Linked DNA regions of Homo sapiens: regions 2, 3, 4, 5, 6 and 7 are each linked to region 1. Evidence: promoter capture Hi-C in human tissues and cell types (Jung and others, 2019). All regions are on one chromosome and are shown on one strand. Each heading gives the region's core, a stretch centred on a gene start or on the middle of the fragment in contact. The rest is flanking DNA. Distances are from core to core; before and after follow the strand shown.

Region 1 (2,918 bases), core at 191-2,690:
GCCCTTCAGCCCCATAAAGTCGGGGAGTCATGGGGGGTAGGAAGAATGAGAGAAAGAGAGAGAGACCTACAGGTGAGAGAAAGAGAGAGAGACCTACAGGTGTGCAGTGCCTGATAGAAACAGTGACCTTCGCCCACCGGCAAAGCTGTCCTCACCAATGTCCTGGTGCCTGGTCATTCACTCATGGGGAAAAGAAGAGCAGAAGTAGAGTGAGGGTAGAAAGCCCCTTCCCCCACATTTTCAAATGTACCTGGACAAGCATCCTTATTCACAGCTGGAAGAAGTTGGATTCAGTAGAATGCCATTTGGAAAACACCGTTCTGAAGTGCCATCCCCTCTGGCCCCTGAATCCTCACCAGCTTCCACCCTCTGCTCACCTTGGGCCCTGGATTCCAGCGCCCCCAGGCTCCCAGCTGCCTCCCTGTCTCTGCCCCATGGTCCGGCCTGGAGTTCTGGTCCCTGGTTGTGTCCTGTGGCCCCATTCTCATGCGCCCTTTGCTTCTGTTTCTTTACCTATGACTTTATACTGATGTAAAGCGAGTCTTCTCGGTCGCTTCTTGTTCTCTGAGGAATGATGAATCAGAATCTAAATGGAAAATCTGGGCAGAGATAGAACCTCCCGCGGGAGCCACCCTGCCCTTCCATGTCTAGATCATCTGGGTTCCAACCTCCATCCTCCTCCAATGAGAAGCTTTTGTTCTCTCAAGATTCCAGTGACTTCTCCGAAGCTTAGGTGTCTCTTCACCCCTGGCTGTTCCAAGGCGGCCCCATAGTCAAGATTCCTTAAACCCTTGCCCCTTAAAATGTTTGCCTTTCTTACCATGCTGGCTCCAGCCTCTGGTCCCAGGGGTGTGGAGAGTTCTCTCTTACTTCTGGCTGATTTCCAGGAAGGCTAAGCACACTCTCCCCAGGTTATAATGCTGAGCATTTTGGTTCTCTCCAGCCCTGGGTCCCAATGTCAGGACCTACCTTAGTCCAGTCCATGCTCTCCCATGGGCCTGAGAGAAGATTTGAGGTTTCTGGCTTTCCCTCCAACCCTCCAACTCCCACCCCAAGCCATGTCAGCAAGGGGAAGGGGCAAACATGGAGTTTCCCCCCCAACTCCCATGTAAACTATGCCCCCTCTTAGAGGGCAGAGCAGCTAAGGACAATTTTGTTTCAAGGACATTTTTTTTGGCTGTGTATTGCACAAACAAGTGGACACCCGGGAGCTGGCCCTGCTCGTCCCCTGGGCCCTCCTTCCCTGGTCCTGCAGGTCTTGCTGCTTGTCAGGCCTCTCCTCCAACCCTCTGCCACATTTCAGAAAAGCTGAGAATCCCTTGGAGTGAAAAAGGAGGAGAAACACAGTGTCCGTAGCCCAGAAGGAGGTTAAATACTTTCACTTCTCTTTTCCCCATTTGGGCGGAGCCCTTTCTGAGTCAGTCTGTCGGCCGACTTCCTGCTTGGGGCCTGGGCAGCCACACTGCACGCAGGCTGGGCCGACTGAGGGGCTCAGAGGCCAGGCTCTGAGGCCCACGCAGGGCCTAGGGTGGGAAGATGGCAGGTGGGGGCGGCGACCTGAGCACCAGGTGAGTCTTTATCTCCCTTCCTTTAACCTTTATCTCTGGCTATATTGCAGCTTTCATGCCTTTAGTTCAGTTTGTGCCTAAGGCTTCACTTTAATCCTTCTTTGCAAGAACATAGGTATGCGATGTTATATAATGAAATGAAAGACAAGTAATGAGGAAATCAGATTTTTTAAACAGGAGCAGGACAGCTGTTGGTGTGAGTTCAACTTGCCATAACACACGTGACTTTCTTGTTTTGGATTTACTGCTCAGCTGACCGGGACACTCTAAACATAGCAGTTGTTGGTGGCTGGGATTAACTATTTCCTCATGATCTGTGAACCCTTTCACCCCTCAGCCTTCCTCTACCTTCAAATATGTCATGTCAAAAAAGGTGCTTTAGAAAATAAACACTCCAGGGTAAACACCTGGCTTACTTTTAAACATCAGACGCTGTGGTCTCACCTGTCCTGGCAAGGGGCCTCTGCCGGCTGTTCCCATGACTGGCTCAGGGTCTGAGTTCTTATTCCATCAACCTTGATCAAAAGAAGGAAAGGGAAGAAAAAGGCCCAGGGTGACAAACGGCTAAATATTTTCATTTTTACCTCAATTTCCTGTCCCAAGATGGGGGATACCTCTGACCAGAAAAGAGAAGGAAATCCTAACTTTTCTCTAGTAGTGAGTTGAGAAATAACATTACTTAATCTTTTAAATTTTTTAATACAAAAGAAATACACTGTACATTATTGTTCATAAAATTTAAAACAGTGGAGAAGTATATTAAGGAAAAAGTCATCTTTGCCACTCAGCCATTCTTGTAGCTTCTCTTCCCAGTCCTGTGAAGAGTCTTGGGCACAGCTTTTCTTATATTTTTCTATGCATTTATATATCTAATGCATTTTTTGTAAATACGTAATTTATGTTCTTGATTTATAATAAATTATATTACATGTGCTAGTCTGCATTTTGCATTTTTACTTATTTTAATAGTGGAAAACTTAGAGATCTTTTAACCTTAATACATATAGATCTGCCTCATTCTTTTTATACATGCTATTCCATAGAATTGATATATGATAATTATTTATTCTCCAATTGAAGGACATTTAGATTGTTTTTAAATTGTTCACATTTACCAATAAGCTATCATAACAATGATTATATATTTCTTTTTGGGTTTTTACATCTAAACAAATATTTATCTTGTCTCTAAACCTTAAAAATGTAATTATTGAGGCAAAGGGTCCAGTTATTTACTTGGTCCTGCCAAATTGTCTTTCTAGGAGGCTGAATGAATGTATTTCACCAGTAGCAAATGAGATGAACCATCTTCCTGCACACAGCCACGATTTGCAAAGGTGATGAATGAAG
Region 2 (2,918 bases), core at 212-2,711, 240 kb after region 1:
GTTCTGGAACGTTCTCCAAAGTGCCTCAGGGCTGCCCAAAAATAACCGAAAGGACACCCAGGACCCCCTCCTGGACAGCGAAGACATCTCTCCAAAGGCCTCAGCAGAGCCCCCGTGTTTTGGGGAGCCCGTCGTCCCCAACCCTCTCCTGGTACCACAGAACAGCACTTACTTCGCTAATTGTCTCCTGGTAGAAACGGCACAGCTAACGTGAAGGAACAAGGCATCCTAATCCACTGTGTGGTGTGGCAGAATCCATGACAAGCCACACAGGTGTAGGGCTGCCGCGCTGTCACACAGGGTCCCAGCGCTGAAGGACCGGGCGGTGAGGGGGCAGGGAAAGTCAGAAAGGGCACCCAGGGTACAGGGCACAGTGCTCAGTTTGCTGTGGCTGCCTGAGTAGTAATAATCACAGCTACAACTGCAGGTGCGCTCAGGTGCCAGGCCTGCGCACTGTCTCGGAGCATCTCACTTTATGCTCATAGCGAAGGAGGTACAAATTTCAACCCCTAATTACCATTAGCTGTCATCATTTTTATTGTGGCTCTGCCTGGCTAGCCCTTGCTCTCCTCACCCCAAGTCAGTGGCCCACTGAGTCCTCAGAGCCTGGCTCCACAGCCCCAGACCACCAGGATGGCCTCTCCTCCTGATGCTCCCATCTGAGTCTTCGCTGCTTTGAAAAATGCGGGTTTTTCTTCTGTGTTGAGTTGAAGACGGAGCTCTGCCTTTCTCTCCTGAGGTGCCCTGCACATGTCAGGGTCCCCGTGGGTGGCCGGAAGGAAAAGCTTCATGAAGGGAAGAAACCAGCCCTTCAGTGGTATGGGGCTCCCCTGGTCCCTGGAGGAACAGTAGCCTCTGTCTGAGTCCTAAACTGGGGCAACAGGCCGGGCACAATGTCTCAAGCTTGTAATCCTAGCACTTTGAGGCACCGAGGCAGGCCGATTGCCTGAGCTCAGGGGTTCGAGACCAGCCTGGGCAACATGGTGAAACCCCGTCTCTACTAAAATACAAAAAATTAGCCAGGTGTGGCAACATGCACCTATAGTCCCAGTTACTCGGGAGGCTGAGGCAGGAGAATTGCTTTAACCCAGGAGGCGGAGGTTGCAGTAAGCTGAGATCACACCACTGCACTCCAGCCTGGGCGACAGAGCGAGACTCTGTCTCAAAAACAATAAAAATAAGTAAATAAAATAAACAAATAAACTGGTGCAGCAGTCCCCTCAGTGGTCATGTGTCCACAGGTTTCCATCACAGCCCTGCAGTGACAGGATGGCTAGATGCCCTGCAGAAATCCTTTCCTGGACATACTCCCTCCTCCAGCCACCAGCCCCCCACTGGGTACAGTGCTCATCACAGCCTGGGGTGGAGGCATCAGCAATGCCCTCTTCAAGCTCTTCCCAAAGAAAGTGCCCCATCCGCCTGCCTCTGGCCCTGCCTGACCTGCACATGAGCCACCAGCTTCCTGCCAGGCCTCTGGTGATCCCTGGAACAGTCTCTAGAGCAGGAGCAGGAGCAGGAGCAGGCAGGGCCTGTATCTTCACTCTGCCTGAGCCCAGGCAGGCTCAGCTATGCCTTCAGGCCCCTCGACCACAATCATGGTGACCACATCCCTGGGATAGTCCCTGCTTTGATAACCTGCCTCACTAGTGCCTGCTAAGCACCGCTCCGCCCAGCCTGGTGTGTCCTCCACATCTTCAACCTCTGCAGTCTTCCCAGGGCTGCCCATGCCCTCCCTGGTTTCCAGTCTCTCCTCTACCACTCTCCTCCATCCCCTCAGTCATCCCCCGGTGCTCCCCTTCCAGACCCCACGGTTGCCCCTGTGCCACCTGACTGTCCAACTTTTCTCCAAGCACTCAAGATGGTCTCAGTGCTCCCCACCCCCACCTAGTGAGTCAATTTCAGTACCTGGGCCCTCTAATTCTGCCCTGCGGAGTCTCAAAGTATGTGCTGCCCACTCACCAGAGGAAACAGAAAGCACCTTCTCAGAATACAGCAGGCTTTAATTTCTAGAACTGTGGAGTCATTCAGAAAATGAGAAGAAGAGTGTTGGGTGTCTGATAAGTGAAGATAAGGGCTCAGAGGGATTGCAGGTCGTGGGGTGCGGAGGGGTGGAAGGGAAGACAGTTATGCTAATTTTTCTAAAGAAGAGCCTAGACATCAGCCCATACATAGGATCAGCTGTGGTTAGGAGGCAGCGCCTTACCAAAACCTGCAGGAACAGCCCCCTCCTCCGTCACTCTGTGCCAAGCCCAGCCCCTGTGGCTGCAGCTTGAGAAGCCCCTGATGTGCTCTCAGAGGCATTTCCCCTGGCGCAGTGGCTGGTGGGCACCTGGAACAGGAGCCCTGCAGCTTCCCCAGACTCAAGCAGGCAGTCACGGCCTTGTGCAGCCTCGACATGGCCTCTGGCTTCTCAACAAGGCCCCCAGTCCATCTGCCTCTGTGCCCGGCCTGCTGACACACCACTGCCCTCGTTCTATGCCAAGCACCTTCCAGTGTGCCACCCAGGGACCGGTGGCAGGAAGCAGGCTCCTAACAGACATGGATTGGGCTCCTGGGCACAATTACTCTACTTCTTTTTTTTTTGAGACGGAGTCTTGCTCCGTCACCAGGCTGGAGTGCAGTGGCGTGATCTCAGCTCACTGCAACCTCCGCTTCCCAGGTTCAAGCAATTCTCCTGCCTCAGCCACCCGAGTAGCTGCGATTACAGGCACGTGCCACTGTGCCCAGCTAATTTTTTTGTATTTTTAGCAGAGACAGGGTTTCACCATGTTGGTCAGACTGGTCTCGATCTTGTGACCTCGTGATCCACCCTCCTCGGCCTCCCAAAGTGCTGGGATTACAGGCGTGAGCCACCGCGCCTGGCCCACTTACTCTACTTCTGCACCCCCCACCCTGCACATAAGGAGGGTACATCAGAC
Region 3 (2,918 bases), core at 205-2,704, 220 kb before region 1:
GTTTTTATGGTTTTGGGTTTTACATTTAAGTCTTTAATCCATCTTCAGTTATTTTTTGTATAAGATGTGAGGAAGGGGTCCAGTTTCAGTTTTCTGCATATGGATAGCCAGTTTTCCTGGCACCATTTATTAAATGGGGAATCCTTTTGCCATTGCTTGTTTTTGTCAGGTTTGTTGAAGAACAGATGGTTGTAGATGTGTCGTGTTATTTCTGAGGTCTCTGTTCTGCTCCATGGTCTATATGTCTGTTTTGGTACCAGTACCGTGCTGTTTTGGTTACTGTAGCCTTGTCGTATTGTTCAAAGTCAGGTAGTGGGATGCATCCCGTTTTATCCTTTTTGCTTAGGATTGTCCTAGCTATATGGGATCTTCTTCGATTCCATATGAAATTTAAAATAGTTTTTTTTTCTAATTCTGTGAAGAATGTAGAGACAATATACCAGAATCTCTGGGACACAGCTAAAGCAGTGTTAAGAGGAAAACTTGTAGCACTAAATGCCCACATCAGGAAGCTAGAAAGATCTCAAATGGACACCCTAACATCACAATTAAAAGAGCTAGAGAGGCAAGAGCAAGCTAATCCAAAAGCTAGCAGAAGACAAGAAATAAGTAAGATCAGAGAAAAATTGAAGGAGATAGAGACACAAAAAACCCTCAAAAAATCAATGAATCCAGGAGCTGGTTTTTTGAAAAAATTAACAAAATAGATCACTAGCCATATTAATAAAGAAGAGAGAGAAGAATCAAATAGACAGAATAAAAATGATAAGGGGGAATATCATCACTGATCCCACAGAAATACAAACTACCATCAGAGAATACTATAAACACCTCTACACAAATGAACTAGAAAATCTAGAAGAAATGGATAAATTCCTGGACACATACACCCTATCAAGACTAAACCAGGAAGAAGTTGAATCCCTGAATAGACCAATAACAAGCTCTGAAATTGAGGCAGTAATTAATAGCCTACCAACAACACAAAACCCAGGACCAGATGGATTCACAGCTGATTCTACCAGAAATACAAAGAGGAGCTGGTACCATTACTTCTGAAACTATTCCAAACAATTGAAAAGGAGGGAACTCCTCCTTAACTCATTTTATGAAGCCAGCATCATCCTGATACCAAAACTGGGAAGAGACACAACAAAAAAAAAGAAAATTTCAGGCCAATATCCCTGATGAACATCAATACGAAAATCCTCAATAAAATAATGGCAAGCCAAATCCAGCAGCACATCAAAAAACTTATTCACCATGATCAAGTCGGTTTCATCTCTGAGATGCAAGGTTGGTTCAACATACACAAATCAATAAGCATAATCCATCACATAAACAGAACCAAGACAAAAACCACATGATTATCTTGATAGATGCAGAAAAGGCCTTTGATAAAATTCTACATCCCTTCATGTTAAAAACTCTCAATAAACTAGGTATTGATGGAACATATCTCAAAATAATAAGAGCTATTTATGACAAACCCACAGCCAATATCATATAAAATGGGCAAAAGCTGGAAGCATTCCCTTTGAAAACCAGTACAAGACAAGGATGCCCTCTCTCACCATTCCTATTCAACATAGTATTAGAAGTTCTGGCCAGCACAATCAGGCAAGAGAAAGAAATAAAGCGTATTCAAATAGGAAGAGAGGAAGTCAAGTTGTTTCTGTTTGCAGATGACATGATTATATACTTAGAAAACCCCATCATCTCAGCCCAAAAACTTCTCGAACTGATAAGCAACTTCAACAAAGTCTCAGGATACAAAATCAATGTGCAAAAATCACAAGTATGCCTTTACACCAACAATAGGCAAGCAGAGAGCCAAATCATGATGAACTACCATTCACAATCACTACAAAGAGAATAAAATACCTAGGAATACAGCTAACAGAGGATGGGAAGGACCTCTTCAAGGAGAACTACAAACCACTCCTCAAGGAAATAAGAGAGGACACAAATGGAAAAACATTCCATCTTCATGGATAAGAAGAATCAATATCTTGGAAATGGCCATACTGCCCAAAGTAATTTATAGATTCAATGTTATTCCCATCAAACTATAATTTCAATTTATAAAAATTTATTGAGACTTGTTTTGTGGCTATCATATGGTCTATCTTGGAGAATGTTCCATGTGCTGATGAGAAGAATGTAATCTTCTGTAAATATCTATTAGGTCCATTTGTTCTAGAGTGTAGTTTACATCTATTGTTTCTTTTTTGACTTTCTGTCTCAATGATCTCTCTGGTGCTGACAGTGGAATACTGAAGTTCCCCACTATTATTGTGTTGTTGTCTTATCTCTTTTCTTAGGTCTAGTAGTAAATGTCTTATGAATCTGGGAGCTCCAGTGTTAGCTACATCTAAATTTAGGACTGTAATATCTTCCTGTTAGATTGATCCTTTTATCATTATATAATGACCTTCTTTGCCTTTTTTTACTGTTGTTGCTTTAAAGTCTGTTTTATCTGATATGAGAAAAGCTACTCCTGTTTACTTTTGGTTTCCATTTGCATGGAATATCTTTTTTCACCCTTATACCTTGAATTTATATGGGTCCTTGTGTGTTAAGTGAGTCTCTTGAAGATAGCAGATATTTGGTTTGTGATTTTGTATCCATTCTGCCAATCTGTATCTTTTAAGTGGAGCATTTAGGCCCATTTATGTTGAACATTAATATCAAGATGTGAGGTACTGTTTCAGTCATCATGTTAATTGTTACCTACATACGTTGTTTTCTTCATTGTGTTATTGTTTTATAGACCTTGTGAGTTTTATGCTTTCAAGAGTTTGTATTCTGGTGCATATCAATCTTTCGTTTCAAGAGTTAGAACTCCTTTTGGCATTTCTTATAAAGCTGGTCTGGTAGTGACAAATTCCCTCAGCATTTGTTTGTCTAAAAATGAC
Region 4 (2,918 bases), core at 177-2,676, 230 kb after region 1:
TGATCCGCCCACCTCAGCCTCCCAAAGTGCTGGGATTACAGGTGTGAGCCACCACACCCGGTGGTATTTTGTATATCTAAACATAGAAAATTACAGTAAAAATAGGCTATAAAAATAAAAATTGGGCCGGGCGTGGTGGCTCACCCCTGTAATCCCAGCACTTTGGGAGGCCAAGGTGGGCAGATCATGAGGTCAAGAGATCACGACCATCCTGGCCAACACAGTGACACCCTATCTCTACTAAAAACACAAAAATTAGCTGGGCGTGGTGGTGCATGCCTATAGTCCCAGCTACTCGGGAGACTGAGGCAGGAGAATCTCTTGAACCTGGGAGGCGGAGGTTGCAGTGAGCCGAGGTAGCGCCACTGCCCTACAGCATGGGCAACAGAGCGAGACTCCGTCTAAAAAAAAAAAAAAGAAAGAAACAAAAGAAAACAGATATACAAAATACCATTGTGCTACAATTGCCTGCAGTATTCAATACAGTAACATGCTGTCCAGGTTCATAGCGTGGGAGCAGTAGGCTACACCATGTAGCCTAGGTGTGCTAGGTACCAGCAGTAGGCTACACCATCTAGATTAGTGTAAATACAACCTATGATGTTCACACAATGATGAAATCTCATGATGCATTTCTCAGAACGTATCCGTTGTTAGGCGATGCATGACTGTACTTTGTTACGGCAGCCCCAGGAAACTAATGCAGTTGTCTACTCAGCATCCATTCCCCTCTTCCTAACAATACCCAAATTTTCGTTTGTACGTTTACCCCTTCTGCATACAGGAAACCATTGAGATGGCTTAGCCAATCAGCATTTTTTATTTTATCCTCCATAAGTCGTTGGTTTGGAGGTGGACACATCTTTAACTGGGCCGATCGGAGTGGCTCTCAGCACTCTCTCTTAGAATAGTGGGACAGAGGGCTCCTCGAGAAGGATGTGAGCCACTAGACATGAACCAGAAAGCATAAGGCTTGGATTACATCTGGCAACAGCCATCTTCAGATGCAGCCAACAGGGTGGGCAACAGAGCAGAGAGACTCAAAGGTCCTGGGTCATGGGAGATGTCTTAAAACCGCAAGATCAGTCTGCCCTGAAACATTGAATGTCTTACAGTCAAAGGCTTTATAGTTAAACCAGTTTAACTGAGATCTGGCATTCTTGCAGCCCAAAGCTTCCCAGCTGACAAGCTGGCAACACAGGGCAGATTGTACCATCTCAAGCCAAGTGAGGGGCTTTAAAAGAATCCACTGGAGGCTGGCTGCAGGGGCTCGTGCCTGTAATCCCAGCACTTTAGGAGGCTGAGGCGAGTGGATCACCTGAGGTCAGGAGTTCGAGACCAGCCTAACCAACATGATGCAACCCCATCTCTACTAAAAATACAAAATCAGCTGTGCATGGTGGCACACGCCTGTAATCCCAGCTACTTGGAAGGCTGAGGCAGGAGAATCACTTGAACCCGGGAGGTAGAGGTTGCAGTGAGCCAAGATCACGCCATTGCACTCCAGCCTGGGCTACAGAGCGAGACTCCATCTCAAAAAATAAAAATAAATTTAAAAATTAAAAAATAAGGAATCCCTTGGAGAGATAGACACGAAGGACTCGGGACTGAAGCCACACCCAAAGAATCTATAGCCTGGAGGCCATGGCTGGAACTCACCCTGCTTGGCAAATACAGGAAGAGACATGACGGTGGTGGAAAGGGCCTGCACTTCCAGAGCCTGGTGGGACAAGGATGGATGTGCATCTCCCAGAGGCCAGAGATGGGCTCGCTGAAAGGAGCTGGGCCAGGTCTCCTTGAGAGAGACTCTGCCCAGGAGAACTTGCTGCAAGTAAAGCAGGGGAATGAACCAGAAAGCAGGGACCCTGCATTGGTGATCAATTGGGCAGCAGGAGGTGTCATCCAGTTCCCTGGAGTTCCCACTTAAAATTACAACAGAGCAGGTCAACCAAAGCCCTTCCTGCCCCTCACCTCTCTTCCCCTGCCCACTCTAGTCCTGCAGAGACCAAAAGAACAGGTGGCGAAGGAGACCAGAGGTTGAGAGTCAGAAAAGCGATCAGACCACTCCCCACAGTTCCTGGACTAAGACAGGCCCCAGCTGAAGCAGGGTAGAGGGCGTTAGTAGGATAAAATATTGAATATTAGAAGAGATAAGACTTTTTTTAATTATTAAAAGGAGTCTGTTCTTATAACTAAAAGGTCCTGGAAAAACTGTGGGCCATCCCCAGATTTTAACCAGGTCTAGTGAGCACTGTTGTGCCCACATCCCGGGCATTCAACCTACGCAGGAAGGCCTTGTATTGCCAATACCCGAGCCTCTGCCCAACAGCTTTTATCTGGCCAGGGAGGGTGCTCAACGCTTGAGCAAGGCAAACAGGAAGTGCTGGAGTGGTCAAGTGCCTGGAAGTAGTCTTCAACCAAGGAGGGACAGGAAGTCATTGGGTAAGTACCACAGCTTCCTGCCCCTCAGTCGGGATAATGCTGTGACCTCTGGTCTGAAAACTCACTCTTTAATGGCCCATTCCCTTTCCTATCTTACTTCCTCACTATTTATACCCAGTTCACGTCTCAGGGTCTGTTTCCAGGGACACCCAAACCAAGACAGCAGAAATAGACAAGATGATGTCAAACAGCAGGTTTGAGTGGGCAGGAGGGCAGGGGACACGGGAGCGGGGGTGGGATGTTTCCTGTCACTTGTCTATCCAATAAACCAATCACTCAATTATTTTACTCATAATCAAGTTTCCTGCCTAAAACCTGGGGACAAGAGGCAGTGGGAGTTTTTCATTCTCTTCTGCATGTTCACCACATCTTGAAACTGAAGCTAAATACAGTTAGATACTCATCACATGGCTCTTCTGACTTCTTCCTGCCTCTTGAACTTTCCGTTTCCTCCCATGGTGCCTTTAAGAGTGGGG
Region 5 (2,918 bases), core at 297-2,796, 200 kb after region 1:
AAGGAGAAGGAAGAGAGAGAGAGAGAAAGGAAAGAAAGAGAGAGAAAGAGAAGGGAGGGAGGGAGGGAAGGAAGGAGGGACGGAGGGAGGTAAGGAAGGAAGGAAGGAAATGAAGGGGAAACAAAGGAAGAAAGAAAGGGAAAGGAAAGGAAGAGAGAGAAAGAAAAAAAGAGAAAGGAAAGGGAGGGGAGGGGAGGGGAGAGGAGAGGAGGGGAGAGGACGGGAGGGGAGGGGAGGGGAGAAGAGAAGAGAAGAGAAGAGAAGAGAAGAGAAGAGAAGAGAAGAGAAGAGAAGAGAAGAGAAGAGAAGAGAAGGTCACTTCCAAGATGGCCAAATAGCAACAGCTCCAGTCTGCAGCCCCTAGCGAGATCAATGCAGAAGACGGTTGATGTCTGCATTTCCAACTGAGGTACCTGGTTCATCTCACTGGGACTGGTTGGACAGTGGATACAGCCCATGGAGGGTGAGCTGATGCAGGGCAGGGTGTCGCCTCACCTGGGAAGTGCAAGGGGTTGGGGGATTTCTCCTTCCTAGCCAAGGGAAGCCATATGACAGACTGTACCTGGAGAAATGGTATACTTCTGACCAAATACTGCACTATGCCCACAGTCCTAGCAACTGGCAAACCAGCAGATACCCTCCCATGCCTGGCTCAGCGGGTCCCATGCCAACAGAGCCTTGCTCACTGCTAGCACAACAGTGTGAGATCAACCTGCGATGCTGTAGCTGGACGAGCGGAGGGGAGTCCGTCATTGCTGAGGCTTGACTAGCTCACAGTATAAACAAAGAGGCCTGGAAACATGAACCGGGCGGAGCCCACCTCAGCTCAGCAAGGCCTACTGCCTCTATAGATTCCACCTCCGGGGGCATGGCATAATAGAACAAAAGGCAGCAGACAGCTTCTGCAGGCTTAAATGTCCCTGTGTGACAGCTCTGAAGAAAGCAGTGGTTCTCACAGCATGGCATTTGAACACCAAGAACAGACAGACTACCTCCTCAGTTAGGTCCCTGACCCCCATGTAGCCTGACTGGGGAACACCTCCCAGTAGGGGCCAACAGACACCTCAAACAGGCGGGTGCCCCTCTGGGACAAAGCTTCCAGAGGAAGGATCAGGCAGCAATATTTGCTGTTCTGCAGCCTCTGCTGGTGATACCCAGGCAAACAGGGCCTGGAGTGGACCTCCAGCAAACTCCAACACACCTGCAGCTGAGGGGTCTGATTGTTAGAAGGAAAACTAACAAATGAAAAAAATAGCATCAACATCAACACAAAGGACATGCACACCAAAACCCCATCTGTAGGTCACCAACATCAAAGACCAAAGGTAGATAAAACCACAAAGATGGGGAGAAACCAGAGCAAAAAAGCTAAAAATTCCAAAAAACAGAGCGCCTCTTCTCCTCCAAAGGATCGCAGCTCCTCGCTAGCAAGGGAACAAAACTGGACAGGGAATGATTTTGAAGAGTTGACAGAAGTAGGCTTTAGAAGGTCAGTAATAACAAACTTCTCCAAGCTAAAGGAGCGTGTTCTAACCCATTGCAAGGAAGCTAAAAACCTTGAAAAAAGGTTAGATGAATGGCTAACTAGAATAAATACTAGAGAATACCTTAAATGACCTGATGGAGCTGAAAACCATGGCACGAGAACTTCGTGATGCATGCACAAGCTTCAATAGCTGATTCGATCAAATGGAAGAAAGGATATCAGTGATTGAAGATCAAATTAATGAAATAAAGCAAGAAGACAAGATTAGAGAAAAATGAGTGAAGACAAACGAATAAAGCCTCCAAGAAATATGAGACTATGTGAAAAGACCAAATATACATTTGATTACTGTACTGGAAAGTGACAGGGAGAAGGGAACCAAGTTAAAAAACACTCTTCAGGATATTATCCAGGAGAACTTCCCTAACCTAGCAAGGCAGGCCAACATTCAAATTCAGGAAATACAGAGAACACCACAAAGATACTCCTCCAGAAGAGCAACCCCGAGACACATAATTGTCAGATTCACCAAGGTTGAAATGAAGGAAAAAAAGTTAAGGGCAGCCAGAGAGAAAGGCTGGGTTACCCACAAAGGGAAGCCCATCAGACTAAGAGTGGATCTCTCGGCTGAAACCCTACAAGCCAAAAGACAGTGGGGGCCAATATTCAACATTCTTAAAAAAAAAAAAAAACAATTTTCAAACCAGAATCTCATATCCAGCCAAACTAAGCTTCATAAGCAAAGGAGAAATAAAATCCTTTACAGACAAGCAAATGCTGAGAGATTTTGTCACCACCAGGCCTGCCTTACAAGAGCTTCTGAAGAAAGCACTAAACATGGAAGGCAACAACCAGTACCAGCCACTGCAAAAACATGACAAATGGTAAAGACTATCGACGCTATGAAGAAACTGCATCAATTAACGGGCAAAATAACCAGCTAACATCATAATGACAGGATCAAATTCAAACATAACAATATTAGCCTTAAATGTAAATTGGGCTAAATGTCCCAATTAAGAGACACAGACTGGCAAAGTGGATAAAGAGTCAAGACCCATCGGTGTGCTGTATTCAGGAGACCCATCTCACATGCAGAGACACACATAGGCTCTAATAAAGGGATGGTGGAAGATCTACCAAGCAAATGGAAAGCAAAAAGAAAAGCAGGGTTTGCAATCCTAGTCTCTGATAAAACAGACTTTAACCATAACCAAAACAAAGATCAAAAGAGACAAAGAAGGCCACTACATAATGGTAAAGGGATCAATTCAACAAGAAGAGCTAAGTATCCTAACTATATATGCACCCAATACAGGAGCACCCAGATTCATAAAGTAAGTCCGTAGAGACCTACAAAGAGACTTAGACTCCCACACAATAATAATGGGAGACTTTAACACCCCACTGTCTATATTAGACAGATCAATGA
Region 6 (2,918 bases), core at 194-2,693, 200 kb before region 1:
CCCAGAGAGAAGGCGGGGGATTAACGTGCATATTCCACAGGGCTAGAAGTAAACCCAGACTTTTACCATAGCAACTTTTTAAATGCAAAAAGCACTTGAGAAATCTCATTACCACGTTTGAAGCTTCTGTAAATCGTCACCAGATTGGGATATTCACGCAGGTTAATTTGACTGAACAATGTCACCAGAAGAGACAGGTTAAAAGTCCTCTCCAGTTGGGTGAGAATGTTGTGCACCACTCTGGATACAGGGATCAAATTTCTACAGGCTTCCAGAGATTCCTATAAAAATGGAGTGAAGGTTTTTATAAATGACTATAAAATTGAATGGGAAGTTATACATTTATGGTTTTCTAAGTTTTAAGAAAGCTACCTTACTCTTTTAAGAAGAAATTCAACATAAAATATATAGTCACATTCTCTAAGGTAGAGCGGTCACAGTTTTACATGCTTATTTTTGAAACTTTACACATATTTGGATGACTAGCAACAAAAATAAATAATTTAGCTTTCTTAAAGTAAGTCTATATTCTGAATCCAACTTTCAGGCACATTTGAGACGAGAGAAATTTGAAGGAAGGAAAGTGGGGTTAAAGGATGCTACTATGTAATTGATTCTTTAAAGCTGTGGGCAGGATACTTCAGCAATGGTTCTAGTGATGGTCACAGAGGCAATTCTGCTGGTTGCTTGTGAGCCTCTGCTCAGTCTCTCTCTGTGTCTCTCAAACTTGAGATAAGCCTGAATGGATTCCAGCCACAGAGAAGTCACCCTGAGAATTTTCCTTGCCTAGAGGATGGACAAAAGGAGAAATACGGCAAGAGAGAACTGATTGCAAATAATTATTGAACATCTACTAGGCTCGGTCAGCGAGTCTTTGGGTACACAGCACTGAATAAGACCAACATGGAGTTGCCTATATTTGGGGGTCAGGGTAGGCACTGTCAAGTGGAGAAGATGAGCATTAATAAACACAAATAAATACCCATTTACAATTGAGAGTAGTGTTACGGAGGGAAAGCATAGATTGCTATGGAACTGAATAACTAAGGGGTCTTCATGAGATGAGTTGGCCAAGGAGATGTCTCTGAGGAGTGCTCTCTGGGCTGTGATCTGAAGAGGGAGTTGGGGCCAACCAGACTAAGACTAAGGGAAGATTATTGGCACTTCCTTGAGTCTAGGGCTCAATTAATGCTTTTAAAAACCAAAATTATATAAAAATAGGTCCACTTTTGTCCACATAGCATATCTCCCAGTGCCTGCCTGTCTCACATCAGAATGCACTGTGAGCAATATTAGCTGTTATAAATTGGGATGATGCCTGTAGTGAGTTGAATGTTGGATGGATATATCTCAGCCAAGATATATCCATCTAGAATCTGTGAATGTGAACTTATTTGGAAAAAGTGTCTTTGCAGTTGTAATTAAGTTAAGGATCTTGAGATAAAATCATCTTTGATTAGGGTGACCCTAAATCCAAGTGTCCTCAGAAGATTAGGTAGAAGACTCAAAAGAGAGGTGATGTAGAGATGAAAACATATCAGAGTGATGCATCTACAAGGCAAGGAACACTAAGGATTTCCAACAGCTACCAGAAGCTAGGAGATAGGCAGCTATCGGATTCTCCTCAGGGCCTCTAGAAGGAACCAACCCTGTCAACACCTTGATTTTGGACTTCTGGCCTCCACACCTGAGAGAATATATTTCTGTTGTTTTAAGCTACCTGGTTTGTAGTCATTGTTACAGCAGTCCTTATGACACCCTAGAAACCAACATAGCCCCTATGACACCCTCTCTCCTAACTACCCCCACCTTCTGTGATAATGAACATGCCTGGGCTGGGCCTTCCAAACTCTGGAAGCCCTGGTGGTTTGTGGTTTGAGACTTTAATAATCAGGCATATTGGTGGGGGCTGGGCTGCCATGGAAGGGTTCAACATGACTCACCATGTACATTCTCTTAGTGATGATGGAGTTGTCTAGGAGGCCTTCAAAGAAGGGAAATGGCTTGTGTATGGCATAGGCGATCCCCAGCTTCTGGTGCATGAAGTGCTGAAAAAGAGCCTCTTCCATGGCTCTTGTCATGGTGAACATCCTATGGAAAGAGGCATGATAAAAAATAGAAGCAAAGGCTGGGCGCGGTGGCTCATGCCTGTAATCCCGGCACTTTGGGAGGCCGAGGTGGGTGGATCACCTGAGGTCAAGAGATTGAGACCATCCTGGCCAACATGGTGAAACTCTGTCTCTACTAAAAATACAAAAATTAGCTGGGTGTGGTGGCGCACGCCTGTAGTCCCAGCTACTTGGGAGGCTGAGGCGGGAAAATTGCTTGAACCGGGGAGGTGGAGGTTGCAGTAAGCCAAGATTGTGCCACTGCACTCCAGCCTGGGTGACAGAGTGAGACTCCATCTCAAAAAAAAAAAAAAAAAAAATAGAAGCAAAACCTTGAGGAATGTGGGAAGCTTCTCTCTGCATTAAATGGGCAGATCTAAAGGTAAGCATTCTGGTCCCAAAGGCATCCTTAGTAGCCTGCAAAGCAATGTCTGCCTAAAAGGCTCATGGGTATAGGAAACAAGGACAATTCCCAGCAACAATGGAGGCTGAGAGTGACTGAAAATATAATGACAGAATCCCAAGGCGCTGCAGGTAAACATAAGGAAGGTATTAAAAGTAGCTAATATTTATGGAGTGTTTCCTGTGTGCCAGACTTTGTTCTAAGGGTTTCATATGCAGTAACTTATCTGATTTTCATAAAACCCTTGCGAGGTGGTTCCTATGACTGCACCTGTTTATACTGTTGAGGAACTGAGACACAGAAATGTTTAATAACTTGCCCCAGGGTTGCACAACTAGAGAGTGGAAGAGCTGGGAGCAAATCCTGATTCCAGGCTTACAGTGCTAACTATGTGTTCTATGGCCACA
Region 7 (2,918 bases), core at 278-2,777, 190 kb after region 1:
TACCCATGTTTACAAGAGCATTCAGTGGCCATGCACAATGGCATGGTATTCAGCCATGAAAAGGGAATAAAATATTGATATGTGCTGCAGTGTAGATGGACCTTGAAAACACTGGGCTAAGTGAAAGTAGCCAGACATGGAAGGACAAATGTGTGATTCCACTGATCTGAGGTACCTAGAATAAGCAAATTCATAGAAACAGAGAATAGAATCGAGGTCACCAGGGGATGGGAGGAGGGGGAAGGAATGTGGTGTTATTTGTATAACGGGTAGAGAGTTTACATTGGGAATGACAAAAAAGTTTTGGAAATAGTGGTGACGTTTACACGAATGTATTGTGAATGTATTTAATACCACTGAATTGCACACTTACAAATGACTAAATGAGAAATTGATAATGCTAAATAGTCATATATATTAACAATGAAATGATAACTATTATGTATACTTTGCTACAATAAATAATAATAATAATGATAATGGGAGAGGACTCATGTTATTTGAATGTGGAGCTTCGTGTTAATTAGTCCAACTAAGCTATCACATGCTGCTCTCTGGAGCGTGGGGACAGACAATAGCGCTGAGCATAACTGGGGACAGAAAAATAAATTGGCGGGGGCAGGGAGGCTCAGCTTAGTTGAGAGTGGGATTTTGTAGAGAATGAATGTCATGACCAATATCAGAAGTTTCTCAGAGCCACAGTTGAGCTGCTTTTTCTGCTGGTTTCAGGTGACGGCAAAACAGTGGCACAGGTGTGGGCCTGAAGCCCGCATAATGGAGCTTTCCCCTCCTCCCTGGATTCAGCCACACCCAGGACGAATGAGGTTTGGCTGCAAAACTTAATAGTTTGGGGGGTTTGGGGGTTTTTGTTTTTTGTTTTTTGAGACCGAGTCTCACTCTGTGTCCCAGGCTGGAGTGCAGTGACATGATCTTGGCTCACTGCAACCTCCACCTCCCGGGTTCAAGCGATTCTCCTGCCTCCGCCTTCCCAGTAGCTGGGATTACAGGCCCCGCCACCATGTCCGGCTAATTTTTGTATTTTAGGAGAGATGGAGGTTTCACCATGTTGGCCAGGCTGGTCTCAAACTCCTGACCTCAAGTGATCCACCTGACTCGGCCTCCCAAAGTGCTGGGATTACAGGCGTGAGCCACCGCACCCGTCCAATTTAATGGTTTAAGAGAATATGAGGCCAGGCACAGTGGCTCACACCTGTAACCCCAGCACTTTGGGAGGCCAAGGCTAGTGGATCACTTGAGGTCAGGAGTTCAAGACCAGCCTGACCAACATGGTGAAACCCCATCTCTACTAAAAATACAAAAACTAGCCAGGCGTGGTGGTGCACACCTGTTATCCCAGCTACTTGGGCAACTGAAGCAGGAAAATCACTTGAACCCGGGAGGCGGAGGTTGCAGTGAGCCAAGATCATGCCACTGCACTCCAGCCTGGGTGACAAGAGCAAAACTCCGTCTCAAAAAAAAAAGAGAAAACAAAACAAAAGTGAGGAAATCAAGGGGAGGGAAATCACTGCCCCAGCTCAGGGTTCTTGCCCCGAGGAAGGAGCTGCACTGCCAGAGTCCCTTTCAGGCACCCTCCAGGAGGCCACCAACCCCCAGCTGCAGTGCCTGCATGACAAAAGTTCAAGTTCAAGGGCCTGGCTTCCCCTCTGTTCCCCGCCCCCACACCCCCACCCACCCCCAGCAACACAGACAGGAAGCAGGGCTCACTTCCTGCACCAGTGCACTTACAGGAAGTCAGCTGCTATCACAAGTGCAGCCACCTGAGAGCCCAGGCCCTTTCCCAGAACCCCACCCATACCTGGTGGGGCTGATGTCCAGCTAGGGTGCTACACTAAAGCCCTACACAGTACTGAAGCATTAACACGCTTTTAACCCAGTTAGGGAAAAGCCACTGCCCTGAGCCCGTTGAAAGAGCTCAGGAAATGCCACCCCAAAATATGCTGCTTTGGTGTGCCGATCACTTTGAGCTGAAGACACTTGAGAAAGACCAAAGGCAGAGAGACGTTTTCCCTGAACTCCCCCTGTCTGCCTAAAGACAGATCCCCAATCCCCTCCCAGGGAGTTTCGGGGAAATGAAAATCAAAACCACAGTGAGATACCATCTCACACCTGTTAGATGGCTAGCATCAAAAGGTGAAAAGGTAACAGGTCTTGGCAAGGATGTAGAGAAAACACATATATGTTGTTGGTAGGAATGTAAATTGGTGCTGCCATTCCGTAAAACAGTGTGAAGTTTCCTCAAAAAATTAAAAATAGGGATTAGGTGGGGGTGGCTGGCAAAATGGCCAAATAGGAACAGTTCCAGTCTGCAGCTCCCAGCAAGATCAACATGGAAGGCAGGTAATTTCTGCATTTCCAACTGAGGTACCTGGCTCATCTCATTGGGACTGGTTAGACAGTGGGTGCAGCCCACAGAGGGTGAGCCAAAGCAGGGTGGGGTGTCACTTCAACACCCAAGAGGTCAGGAAACTCCCTCCCCTAGCCAAGGGAAGACATGAGGGACTGTGCCATGAGAAACAGTGCACTCCAGCCCAGATACTACACTTTTCCCATGGTCTTTGCAACCTGCAGACCAGGAGATTCCCTCAGGTGCCTACACCACAAGGGCCCTGGGTTTCAAGCACAAAACTGAGCAGCCATTTGGGCAGACACCGAGCTAGCTGCAGGAGTTTGTCTTTCCATAACCCAGTGGCGCCTGGAATGCCAGTGAGACAGAACCATTCACTCCTCTGGAAAGGGGGCTGAAGCCAGGGAGCCAAGTGGTCTAGCTCAGCAGATCCCACCCCCATGGAGGCCAGCAAGCTAAGATTGACTGGCTTGAAATTCTTGCTGGCAGCACAGCCATCTGAAGTTGACCTGGGACACTTGAGCTTGGTGGGAGGAGGGGCGTCCACCATTAC

The links. Contacts are between HindIII fragments. The study calls those that stand out against the background at their distance.
Region 2: a contact is called between a fragment that was not itself captured here and the fragment with the promoter of SP100 in region 1, in 1 of the 25 tissues and cell types used here (ovary).
Region 3: a fragment that was not itself captured here is called in contact with the fragment with the promoter of SP100 in region 1 in 1 of the 25 tissues and cell types used here (spleen).
Region 4: a fragment that was not itself captured here is called in contact with the fragment with the promoter of SP100 in region 1 in 2 of the 25 tissues and cell types used here (IMR-90 fibroblasts and spleen).
Region 5: a contact is called between a fragment that was not itself captured here and the fragment with the promoter of SP100 in region 1, in 1 of the 25 tissues and cell types used here (spleen).
Region 6: a fragment that was not itself captured here is called in contact with the fragment with the promoter of SP100 in region 1 in 3 of the 25 tissues and cell types used here (heart left ventricle, lymphoblastoid cells and spleen).
Region 7: a contact is called between a fragment that was not itself captured here and the fragment with the promoter of SP100 in region 1, in 1 of the 25 tissues and cell types used here (spleen).

The regions. Positions count from the first base shown.
Region 1 is chr2:230,414,761-230,417,678 of GRCh38, forward strand. It overlaps SP100 (SP100 nuclear antigen), which reads left to right and starts at 1,441. Exons shown (of 29, transcript NM_001080391.2): 1 at 1,441-1,568; 2 at 2,831-2,905. The coding sequence starts at 1,537. RefSeq lists an enhancer at 1,088-1,607. The HindIII fragment of the contact is 8,532 bases long and covers 1-2,918 here.
Region 2 is chr2:230,657,310-230,660,227 of GRCh38, forward strand. No RefSeq gene overlaps it. Among named protein-coding and RNA genes, the nearest start is that of LINC01907, 42 kb to the right of the region's middle. RefSeq lists a cis regulatory region at 1,315-2,443 and enhancers at 1,331-1,420, 1,481-1,530, 1,861-2,130, 2,765-2,918. The HindIII fragment of the contact is 6,649 bases long and covers 1-2,918 here.
Region 3 is chr2:230,190,674-230,193,591 of GRCh38, forward strand. The region is part of intron 10 of SP110 (SP110 nuclear body protein); the gene reads right to left. It also overlaps a transcript of SP140 not described here. Among named protein-coding and RNA genes, the nearest start is that of SP110, 28 kb to the right of the region's middle. The HindIII fragment of the contact is 5,786 bases long and covers 1-2,918 here.
Region 4 is chr2:230,641,285-230,644,202 of GRCh38, forward strand. No RefSeq gene overlaps it. Among named protein-coding and RNA genes, the nearest start is that of LINC01907, 58 kb to the right of the region's middle. The HindIII fragment of the contact is 3,162 bases long and covers 1-2,918 here.
Region 5 is chr2:230,618,944-230,621,861 of GRCh38, forward strand. No RefSeq gene overlaps it. Among named protein-coding and RNA genes, the nearest start is that of LINC01907, 80 kb to the right of the region's middle. The HindIII fragment of the contact is 3,569 bases long and covers 1-2,918 here.
Region 6 is chr2:230,214,838-230,217,755 of GRCh38, forward strand. SP110 (SP110 nuclear body protein) reads right to left here. Exons shown (of 19, transcript NM_080424.4): 2 at 1,944-2,091; 3 at 113-281. The coding sequence starts at 2,090. It also overlaps a transcript of SP140 not described here. Among named protein-coding and RNA genes, the nearest start is that of SP110, 3.7 kb to the right of the region's middle. RefSeq lists an enhancer at 1,786-1,935. The HindIII fragment of the contact is 6,158 bases long and covers 1-2,918 here.
Region 7 is chr2:230,601,058-230,603,975 of GRCh38, forward strand. No RefSeq gene overlaps it. Among named protein-coding and RNA genes, the nearest start is that of LINC01907, 98 kb to the right of the region's middle. RefSeq lists an enhancer at 1,383-1,512 and a silencer at 1,653-1,732. The HindIII fragment of the contact is 4,784 bases long and covers 1-2,918 here.